Linked DNA regions of Homo sapiens: region 1 is linked to region 2. Evidence: promoter capture Hi-C in 16 types of primary human blood cells and fetal thymus (Javierre and others, 2016). All regions are on one chromosome and are shown on one strand. The core of a region is centred on a gene start or on the middle of the fragment in contact, and the rest is flanking DNA. Distances in the headings are between cores, read along the strand shown. Region 1 overlaps LINC02154 (long intergenic non-protein coding RNA 2154). Region 2 holds the start of FAM9C (family with sequence similarity 9 member C).

Region 1 (4,743 bases), core at 2,124-4,623, 240 kb after region 2:
CCTGCCAGTTCTCCAGGTATGTTCCAGTCTAGGGACATGGATGTGGGAGCATTTGAGGGATCTCATGAGATTTGTGCCTGCATAATTGTCACATTTTCATCCAACAGAATTTAATGAATATAGAACCAAACTCATTGTATTGTCTTTTGTTTTTGTACAAGACATAGTTTTTAAAGGACATTTTCTTCTTCACTTGAACATGAAACATGGCATAAAAGCATGCAGGGTATTTGATTATTTCAGTAAACAGTATCCTCATTTTCTCAGATCTCATCTTGCTCAAAATTCCTCAATAGCTCTCCATTGCCTATGAAATAAAACCTAACCTTATTAGCATGGACTAAACACACCTTGGATCTGGCTTCTGACTCATCTGCCCCCATCCTTTCCCATTACATATTACATCCCAGCAGCAGTCATTAATAGTAATGCCCTCAAAATGCTATGCTCTCTCCTGTCCTTGCATCTTCACATATATCATTTCCCAAAATGACTTCCCTGATTTCCATACCTGGAAAACTCCTATTCATCCTTCAAATCGTAGCTCAAAGCCATCATACCCTATCACCCCCAGACCAACTACCTCTCCTCTCCCCTATACTTTGAACACTTCTTATATGTCCATCAGCAGAGGGTCTCAACCTTGGCTACCTACCTTGTGAGATAGGAATAGCACTGGGCAGTTGCAGGAGGATGGAAAAACCCAGACAACAGCTAAATCAAGAACTAGGCAAAGAAATCACAGGATAACAGAAAACCCCAAATAGGGGAGAGAAAATGACAAAAATCTTGGTCAGGGTGACGTGTCCATGACTCTTCTGGGCAAACCAACATAAGGGAGAAAGGGGGCAGTAATGGGGAGTTGGGGCAGGGCTGAAATCCCCTTCTTTTCCAGAAAATCTAATGATTATTTTACCCCTTAATTTAAAAAAACCCCCAAAATTAGAAACCCATACTCCACTGTGGGCAACTCATTCTTATGAGCACGCCCACACTTCTCTCTTAAGTGTGTACCTTTGCTTTGCAATAAAGCTTCCTGTCTTTCACATCATTCCAACTTATCCCCAAATTCTTTCTTGTGACAGTGTCAAGAATCCAAAAAACTGGTTGGGGCTGGGGTCTCACTAGTGTCTCACAGTATCTTTTAAAACTCCCCAAGTGATTTTAATATTTGAATACTACCTTTTTTTCTTCCCCAAATTGAAGACTCCAGACAAGCTATGACCATGCTTTTAATCTCATATAAGCCTAGTGCCTAGCCCTATATAGGAATAAATACATAGAGCTTGAGTGATAACTTCTCTCACAATATGTTTTCAGCACTTCTCTCACAATATTTTTTCGTCACTAATGAATTCTTTAGAAAATAACTCCTGAGAGTAGCAAAAACTGCTTAATTCAAGTTGACCCATTTAAATATTTTTAATATTTCTACCAGCAAGTTTAGTTTATATCTCTAAATATATCCATCTTTGACGAACCATCTTCTATCACACTTAGAGAGGAAGGGAAGCTATCTCTCCAGAATTGCTATTTTTAAATGGTTTTGATATATCTTATTTATTTAGCACTATCAGGAAAAATAAGAAATATAATTAGCAAGTTAGCTGCTTTCAAAAGTAATCATTGCCTGAAATGGGGATAACATGGGTAAGTACCTAGTTGTGTACCTGGTCCATGCCGTCAACAAAAAGATTCAAACTCTTTTTGACTGTTCTATCAGTCTTAAGGGCTCTGTTTTAATGTTAATGCTGGTCAGCTGTGCCCAGATTCCAATGGGAGGAGGGTGTAATGAGGCATGTCCGACCCCTACTTCCCATCACGGCCTGAACTGGTTTTTTAGGTTAACTTTGGAATGCCCTTGGCCAAGGGGAGGGCCCATCAGTCTGTTGCATGGCTTGATTTTTGGTTTACAATGCTGTATGCTCAGTAATGGCAGCTGTTATCATTGTGTGCTTCCTCTTTCAGGAAGGGCTGCCTTCTTAAGTCACCTCACAGGAGGGCATCTGGAGATAACACTAAAAGAGGAAATAAGATGACTTGCCAGGCACTTTCTTTCATTTATGCACAGTCCATGAGATTTCCTGACCTCTTTCATCACAAACAAAGAGGTGTGTGCAGCTTTAGAAATTTAATGGACATGCTACCCATGTCATAAAGAAGAAACTGTTTCAGTTGTTTGTCTTTTCTTACTCCATTTGGCTACTGCTATATAGGGCCTGCTTTCCTAGACCCTTGTGTTTTCCTCAAATCTCTGATTCTACATTTACATGAAAAGCCTTTAGACTGATTGCTCTGAGATTAGCCAACTGTTTCCTAGGTTTGATCACACAATTCCACTCCTACACAATTCCTTCTCTCCTAGGTCTTGTGATTCCCCATCCCCAGCTGAGTCATTCAATTGCAATCACATTTAATTGTCTCCACCTGAGTGGCTTTTTCTTTGGGCCGCTTGCCTTTGTCAAGCAATTGGAGGCAACATTTATTTATGCACATAGCATTTCTAAGGATCCATGGTACCAAGTGACTCTTCCAGATGAAGTAAAGTGACAGCTCTCCACATGATAATGACAGTGACATTTGAATTAGCTGCAAGTCTCCAGAAACAGGCATATTTCAATTTAATTTTTATCCAGCTCAAGATGAACTTAAAAAATTGTTTTCAACCCTTGGTTTCATACTTTGGTTAATACCATGCATTAATTCAGTGAGGTTTTTGTTTTATAGTTATGAATTCAGTAGTGGATGCATAATTATGACCATAACTTTTCACTGACTAGGGCTTCAAAAATTGATAAAGGAGGCACAGAAGAACAGATCTTCTTGGCATAGACTAGCTAGTTGTTGAAAAAAACCCCTCTCCTCTGCCTCCTGGGCACCCAGCCAGGCTACATTTCCCAGCTGTCCTTGCAGTTAAGTGTGGTCATGTGACTGCATCCTGGTCAATGGAATGCCGACAGAAGTAAAATGAGTGACTTTCAGGTCTAGCCCATTAAAAACCTCCAGGCACCATCCTCCATGTTCTTTCTTATTGGCTGCTGATAGCAGCAGGAGGCAGACAAATGCCTAGGCAGACAGGGGCAGGTCCCTAGTGAAACCCCACCTTCAAGCCTGTCTTTGGCTTGTTTAAAGCCTGAAGGCCAAGTTACAAGTCAAATCCACAGACCAGATTGAGAACCTGTCGTCCCATTTGGTGTGCTTTCCTTTGATTTATCCCCACCTTTCACCGATTTTACATATACCTACTCTTCCCTTATTGTTTTTACACTGTGCCCACCTTTGATTGGTGCCTTTGTTTTAACTGTTTTTGCATACTCACACACCAACTGAATGTTGCCTTTTCCAATGCTACCTACGGCCTGCCCCTCCCCTATCCTGTGCCTATAAAAAATCCAGACTCAGCCACACTGGGGTAAGAGATGACCTGACTTTGAGGAAGAGATGATCTCACTTTGGGGGAAAGGTGACCTGACTTTGGGGTAGAGGCCAACTGACTTCAGGGGAGAGATGACCTGATTTTGGGGGAGAGACGACCTGACTTCAGGGAAGAGACAACTCAATCTTCCCATCCCCTCTCCACTGAGAGCTGTTTCGTCACTCAATAAAATTCTCTGCCCTCATCACCCTTCAACAGTCAGCATGACCTCATTCTTCTTGGATGCGGGACAAGAGCTCTAGACCCACTGAATGTGGGTACCCAGAAAGGCTGTGGCACTGGCCCTCTGCCCTCACCAGTGGGGGGGCAGCGCCGCACAAAACAGAAGCAGTGGCAGGGCCAAACCAGTCCCAGAGCCATGCTGGTCCTGGAGCTGTGGGCCAGAGGGGGACAATAGGCTGACTAGCTGCTAACATACTGCAGTCCATCTGGCTGTGAACAGCAGAACAAAAAGAGCTAATTAGCACACTGTAACAGCCACTCTGGGGCTTTGGGGTCACAGGCACCCCTGCCTGGGTACCACCACATTCCCCTTGGGGCAACATGCCTGGTCTGGCGGCAGGCCCTGCATGGAACTTGCTTCTGTGTCGGCACTTGGAGTGGCCAGCTGGACCCCACACTCACTCACTCATGTGTTCCCTCCCCCTAGGGGCTGAGGATGCAGTTGTGCAGCTGCAGGAGTTACAGGCCGGAATGCAAGCCAGATGTGGCCCGGTGGGCCGTGTAGAGGGTGTGCCCCCTGCTGCAAGTCTGGCAAAGGGGCTGTGAAAAATCCTGTGTCACCGTGACCTTGTAAGTCCTATGTTAAAAAATGCAAAGCCACAAGATGCAAGAAGCCTGGGTACCAAAATTATCGCTTGGAGGAATGTTACCCATCTATCAGGAATACCTCTTTTGGACCTTACATGAAAAGGAAATACACTTCTATTTTCTTAAGCCACTGAGATTTGGGGTTTATGTGTTATCGCATACTTTACCTTAACTGGTAAAGATAAATGCTGTACGTCTTAAAATAAAGTACTATTTTTCTCCTAATAACAGGGATATTTTCATTGTTTACTATTTGGAAAATACTCCATACTAGGTGTTAATGTCATCTGAAATATGTTTTTAGGAATAACTCTTTGGAAAATAACTTTGCTAGTCATAACTTTCTTTCTTTTTCCTGAAAGTGGAAGGTAAAGGAGGAGGAAAAAACCTCAATCGAGATGCATTATTCTAGTTAAAGTTCTAGCAATGACTCAGGTTATTCTAATAACTAAATTAACTCAGCGAATCAAGCAATTTTGGAAATTGCAACTTTCTCA
Region 2 (4,483 bases), core at 78-2,577:
TGTTGTGGACATTTTTCATAGAGAAACGTACTATTTGTAGACTTTTTTGGCTCTCCGCCAATTAAAGCTTTACCGCAGAGCTATACATGGAATCGCCGGCTCCTAACCATTTTACGGAGGCATTTTTGGAAGCCCTTCGGGTTCAAGTCCCAGTAAACAACGTTCACAGGTCAGATCCCTTGGATGTCAGGACCGCATCCATGGAGAAGAGCTGCTCTGAGAGCATCTGTAACCCTGCTATGAGGGGGAGCCTCCCACGGGAAGCCTAAGGCCCTTGAGCCTGCTTTGAAAACCTGGGGCATCTCAGCACATGCACGGTGAGCTCCAAAGCCACGAAGGGGCCGGGGGCCTCGGGCTGCCCATGTGCGCCCCGCCCAGAAAGCAGACAGACTGTTGGGCGTGCACCTTCTTCTAGGTCCCCTTGGGCTGTGTTTACCTGCAAGCTCCATTTCCTGGGCGGCCATAACTTGAACCTCCAACTGGTCCTTGGCAGCCATCCTGCTGCCCTTCCTGCCCACGGGCTCCGTGGCTGACTGGCCTGGGAAGCTAGAGGCGACCTCTGAACCTGGTGAGTGCAAAGACACACTAAGGACACTAAGGAAACGAGGCGTGTTAAATGAAAATCATCAGGATCGCAGGTTCAAGGGCGCCCCGGGTCTCCCGTGGGAGCAGGAGGGGACGCGGAGAAGATGCCATCATCCCCTCCTGTCCTGGCCCGTCCAGCGCTTCCCCGGGGCTGGCTGCAGAGCTCGCAGAATTCCGCGGCCTCTGCGGGATTCTTGCAGTGCCCTTGGGACAGAGCCTGGCCCTGCCCCTGGGTTCCCCAGCGACCCAGTGGAGTCGGGAGGGCCGCGGGGTGACACAGGATCTCCCCAGCCATCTCCATGGGAATGAGCCGGTACGCACCTGTTTCTGACAGGGGCAGGGACTGCCCATTCGCCAGCCTGGACGCCCAGGGGACCCCTGGTGACCCCAAGTATCCCGTCCTGATGGGCAGCCAGACAAGACGGACCCACGTTGACCCCCCGACCCCCCCCCAAACGCTGCACACATGCACAGGCCTCCGGGACCCTCCTGGGTCCTGGGGACCACTCAGGCAGCTCCAACTCCCTGCCCTGACCCAGGCCCCAGGCGACAATGCCTGGGCCATTTCCTCACAGATCAGCCTGGCTGCCCCGCCCTTCACACCCTCTTCCCCAAAGGGCCTCTGGCCCGCCTTCCCCGCATCCCCACCGAGGGCGTCTCACCTGAGGGAGCCCTGATGTTGCTCCCTCAGAGGACCTGCAGAGGCTGGCACCGCGAAGCTCCTCCGAGGGCCTGGGTCCTCTGTTCTCACGAGAGCAGCAGCCGCCCCGGCTGCCCGCGCTCCTCGCTGATTGGTCGGCCCAGTGCGCATGCAGGTGGCGGGCGGCATGGGGCCACGCCCCCTGCAGGCACACCCTCCCCCTCACGGACTGTCCATGGCTGCTGTGGACTCATTGGGTGGCTCTCTGAGGCCTCTGTCCCCACGATATTCCAGCTCCTCATCCTGGTGAAGGAAGCAAGGACTCGGGAGTGGTGAGTGCCAGGGGACCCTGCCCTAAGGAATGGAGGCCAAGTGAACGGGGCCTAGGACCTTGCCCCCAGGCTCGTTCCAGCCACTCCTGCCCCTTTGGGTGGAATGGCCATCACCCTGCGGGTGGAGCCCAGGCTCCCTCCCATGTCCTGTGTGCTTCCAACACGCCCAGCTGCATCCTTTTTATCAATGGATTGTGCTTTTATGTTTTATCTAAGAAAATTGTTGACTCCCAGCAGGGGCAGGTAGTTTTCTCCTATCCTACTCCATTCCCTCACACTGGGCATTGCATGATTCTGCAGTGGATATACAAAGTTAAAGACTTTATGTCTAGATTTCTCATGATGTGGTCATTTCTTTTCTTTCATTTTTCTTTTTTCTTTTTTTTTTTTTTTTTGACAGGGTCTTGCTCTGTCACCCAGGCTGGGCTGCAATGGTGTAATCACTACTCACTGTAGCCTCAACTGCCCGCGCTCAAGGGATCCTCCCACCACAGCCTCCCAAGTAGCTGGGACTACAGGCATGTCCCACCATGCCCAGCTAATTTTATTTTATTTATTTATTTATTTTTAGAGACAGAGTCTTACTCTGTCCCCAGGCTGGAGTGCAGTGGCACGATCTCGGCTTCCTGCAACCTCTGCCTCCCTGGTTCAAGCAATTCTCCTGCCTCAGCCTCCCAAGTAGCTGGGACTATAGGCGCACGCCGCCACGCCTGGCTGATTTTTTTTTTTTTTTTTTTGTATTTTAGTAGAGACAGGGTTTCACCGTGTTGCCCAGGCTGGTCTCGAACTCCTGAGCTCAGTCAGTCTGCCCGCCTCAGCCTCCCAAAGTGCTAGGATTACAGGCATGAACCACCGCTCCTGGCCAATTTTGTTTATTTTTTGCAGAGATGAGGTCTCACTATGTTGCCCAGGCTGGTCTGCAACTCCTGGGCTCAAGCGATCCGCCCGCCTCAGCCTCCTAAAGTGCTGGGGTTACAGGCTTGAGCCATCGTGCCCAGCCCGATTATTTCCACAGCTGGGTTGGAAGCCATCTTTCCCTGACAAGGCAGCTCACCTTTATATCTAAGAGTTCTCTATAACCTAAAGAGAATCCCTAATTACTGACACTAAATACCACCAGCTGTCCCCATTTCCCCACAATCTACTTGGTACCCAAATTAGCCAATGAGACATCTTGGGGAATTTTAAGCCATGATTGCTTCAGGTTTCTCTCTCTTTCGAGCTTAAGATGTGTAACATTAAGAAAGAAGACAAATCTTGCAGAGGGCTTTGTGCAACCAGTCTTACAGCTTTCTATCCCATCTGGATCAATGTAATTTTCATATGCTTCATCAAAGATTTCAGCTGAAAGTACTATACCAGGTTCTGTCTATAATTGGAAACACATACACACATACACCAACTACTGGTATTCAGCTAAGAATTCAATGCTGGCTCATTTTTCTTTAAAAGAATGTCAAATCAAGGAACAATTCTCCATCACAAAGTGGAATTTGATGTCAGGTGAAGACAAATGGGGATTACAGAGCTACTTCTTTGGCATAACAGCCTAGAAACAAACTGAAAAGGATTCTGCAATTTTAAATAGGCACAAAGACATTCTTTTCAGAACACCAAGTGTCCAAGTTACAAAACCCTGAAGAAATTCTTTTAAACTTTGGATGGAGCAATTTATCTCTTTTTCCCAACTGGAGTATTTGTGAGATGTCTCCCAGAAAGAAACAACTCAATACACAAATCATTAAGCCTTTGTAAAGGGAGGAAGTCTATTTGAAGCAACTCTGGGTTGCGGAAACAGGTTTTGTGAACTAACCAAAGCCTTTAGGGCAAACATGGTCACTTCAATTTTTTTTTTTTCCCACTAGAGGTTATCTACAAAGACCACAGGAAATGTTTAAGCAAATTTAAAGGAGATTTCTCAAGAGTTATTAGAATAAGTACTTTAATTTAGAGAATTGGTTTCTAATAACTGGAGGTGTAACCCCCTCCTACCCCCAACACCCTACTCCACCCTATGTGAATTGACTGACAAGTAAGGATAATGCTTCATAACAAATGTAGAAATAACACCAATTTTCAAAGCAGCCCTCACTCTTCTATTGCTGTCATTAAGAACTAACTGAAAGAAATGCACTGCTTGGATTCATAGACAGACAGAGGGACAAACAGATGGCTAGATATGTGATAAGCAACAACAGTATGGCCAGATGTCAATGATAGAATCTAGGTGATGGGAACATGAATGTTTTCCATGAAATTCTTTCAACTTTTCTGTGTATTTGAAATTTCTAATAATAAAATGTTGGAAAACAACATGTATGCTGTGCATACATGTAGAGACATAGGCTCAGACCCTCTCATCAAATGGCAACAACAATTGTTCATTTTGAAAACATCTAGAAATCTAAGATGTGATCACTGGGTTAAAGACTGTATACATCCATACTCTGTAGCCTGAATTAGTGATTTACGCTCTAATAGCCAATCAAATTGCTCATTTATCAGACAGGGCTGGTAGCACAGGAGATGGAAGTTTCTCTGCTGATAATCCTCCAGACGTTTGAGGGCTTCATGTTCATTCACATTTCAGCCTTTTCTCCAATTCTTAGACTCTTAGCAAAAGTTTATACTCGAATGAAGCAGCAAATTCTAGGCTCCAGCTGTTTAAGAATGAATGAAAACATTCATGTCTTTCAGAAAGGCTTATCTGATGTACTCTGCACAAATACCCTCACCTATGATCTTCTCTGTGCAAACTCTATCAGGGCCCTTCTCAGTGGGCTTTTCAAGACTCTCTCCAATTAGATTATAATTCCTTCAAGGGCAGGTCTTTGTCAACTTTGCTTCTCCAGCACTCAGCGCCATGGCTGGCACATGGTGGGCCGTCAGCAAATGCTGTGTTTGCTATACGTGAATTAATGCTGTG

Evidence for each region. The method cuts DNA at HindIII sites, captures the fragments that hold promoters and counts their contacts. A CHiCAGO score of 5 or more calls a contact.
Region 1: a contact is called between a fragment that was not itself captured here and the fragment with the promoter of FAM9C in region 2, in 1 of 17 cell types (naive B cells). The highest score is 5.0, in naive B cells.

What each region holds. Positions count from the first base shown.
Region 1 is chrX:13,281,797-13,286,539 of GRCh38, forward strand. All of the region lies in intron 1 of LINC02154 (long intergenic non-protein coding RNA 2154), which reads right to left. Among named protein-coding and RNA genes, the nearest start is that of LINC02154, 19 kb to the right of the region's middle. The HindIII fragment of the contact is 4,687 bases long and covers 1,031-4,743 here.
Region 2 is chrX:13,043,293-13,047,775 of GRCh38, forward strand. FAM9C (family with sequence similarity 9 member C) reads right to left here and starts at 1,328. Exons shown (of 8, transcript NM_174901.6): 1 at 1,248-1,328; 2 at 437-565. The coding sequence starts at 497. LOC105373133 (a long non-coding RNA gene) reads left to right here and starts at 1,441. Exons shown (of 4, transcript NR_171577.1): 1 at 1,441-1,557. The HindIII fragment of the contact is 8,868 bases long and covers 66-4,483 here.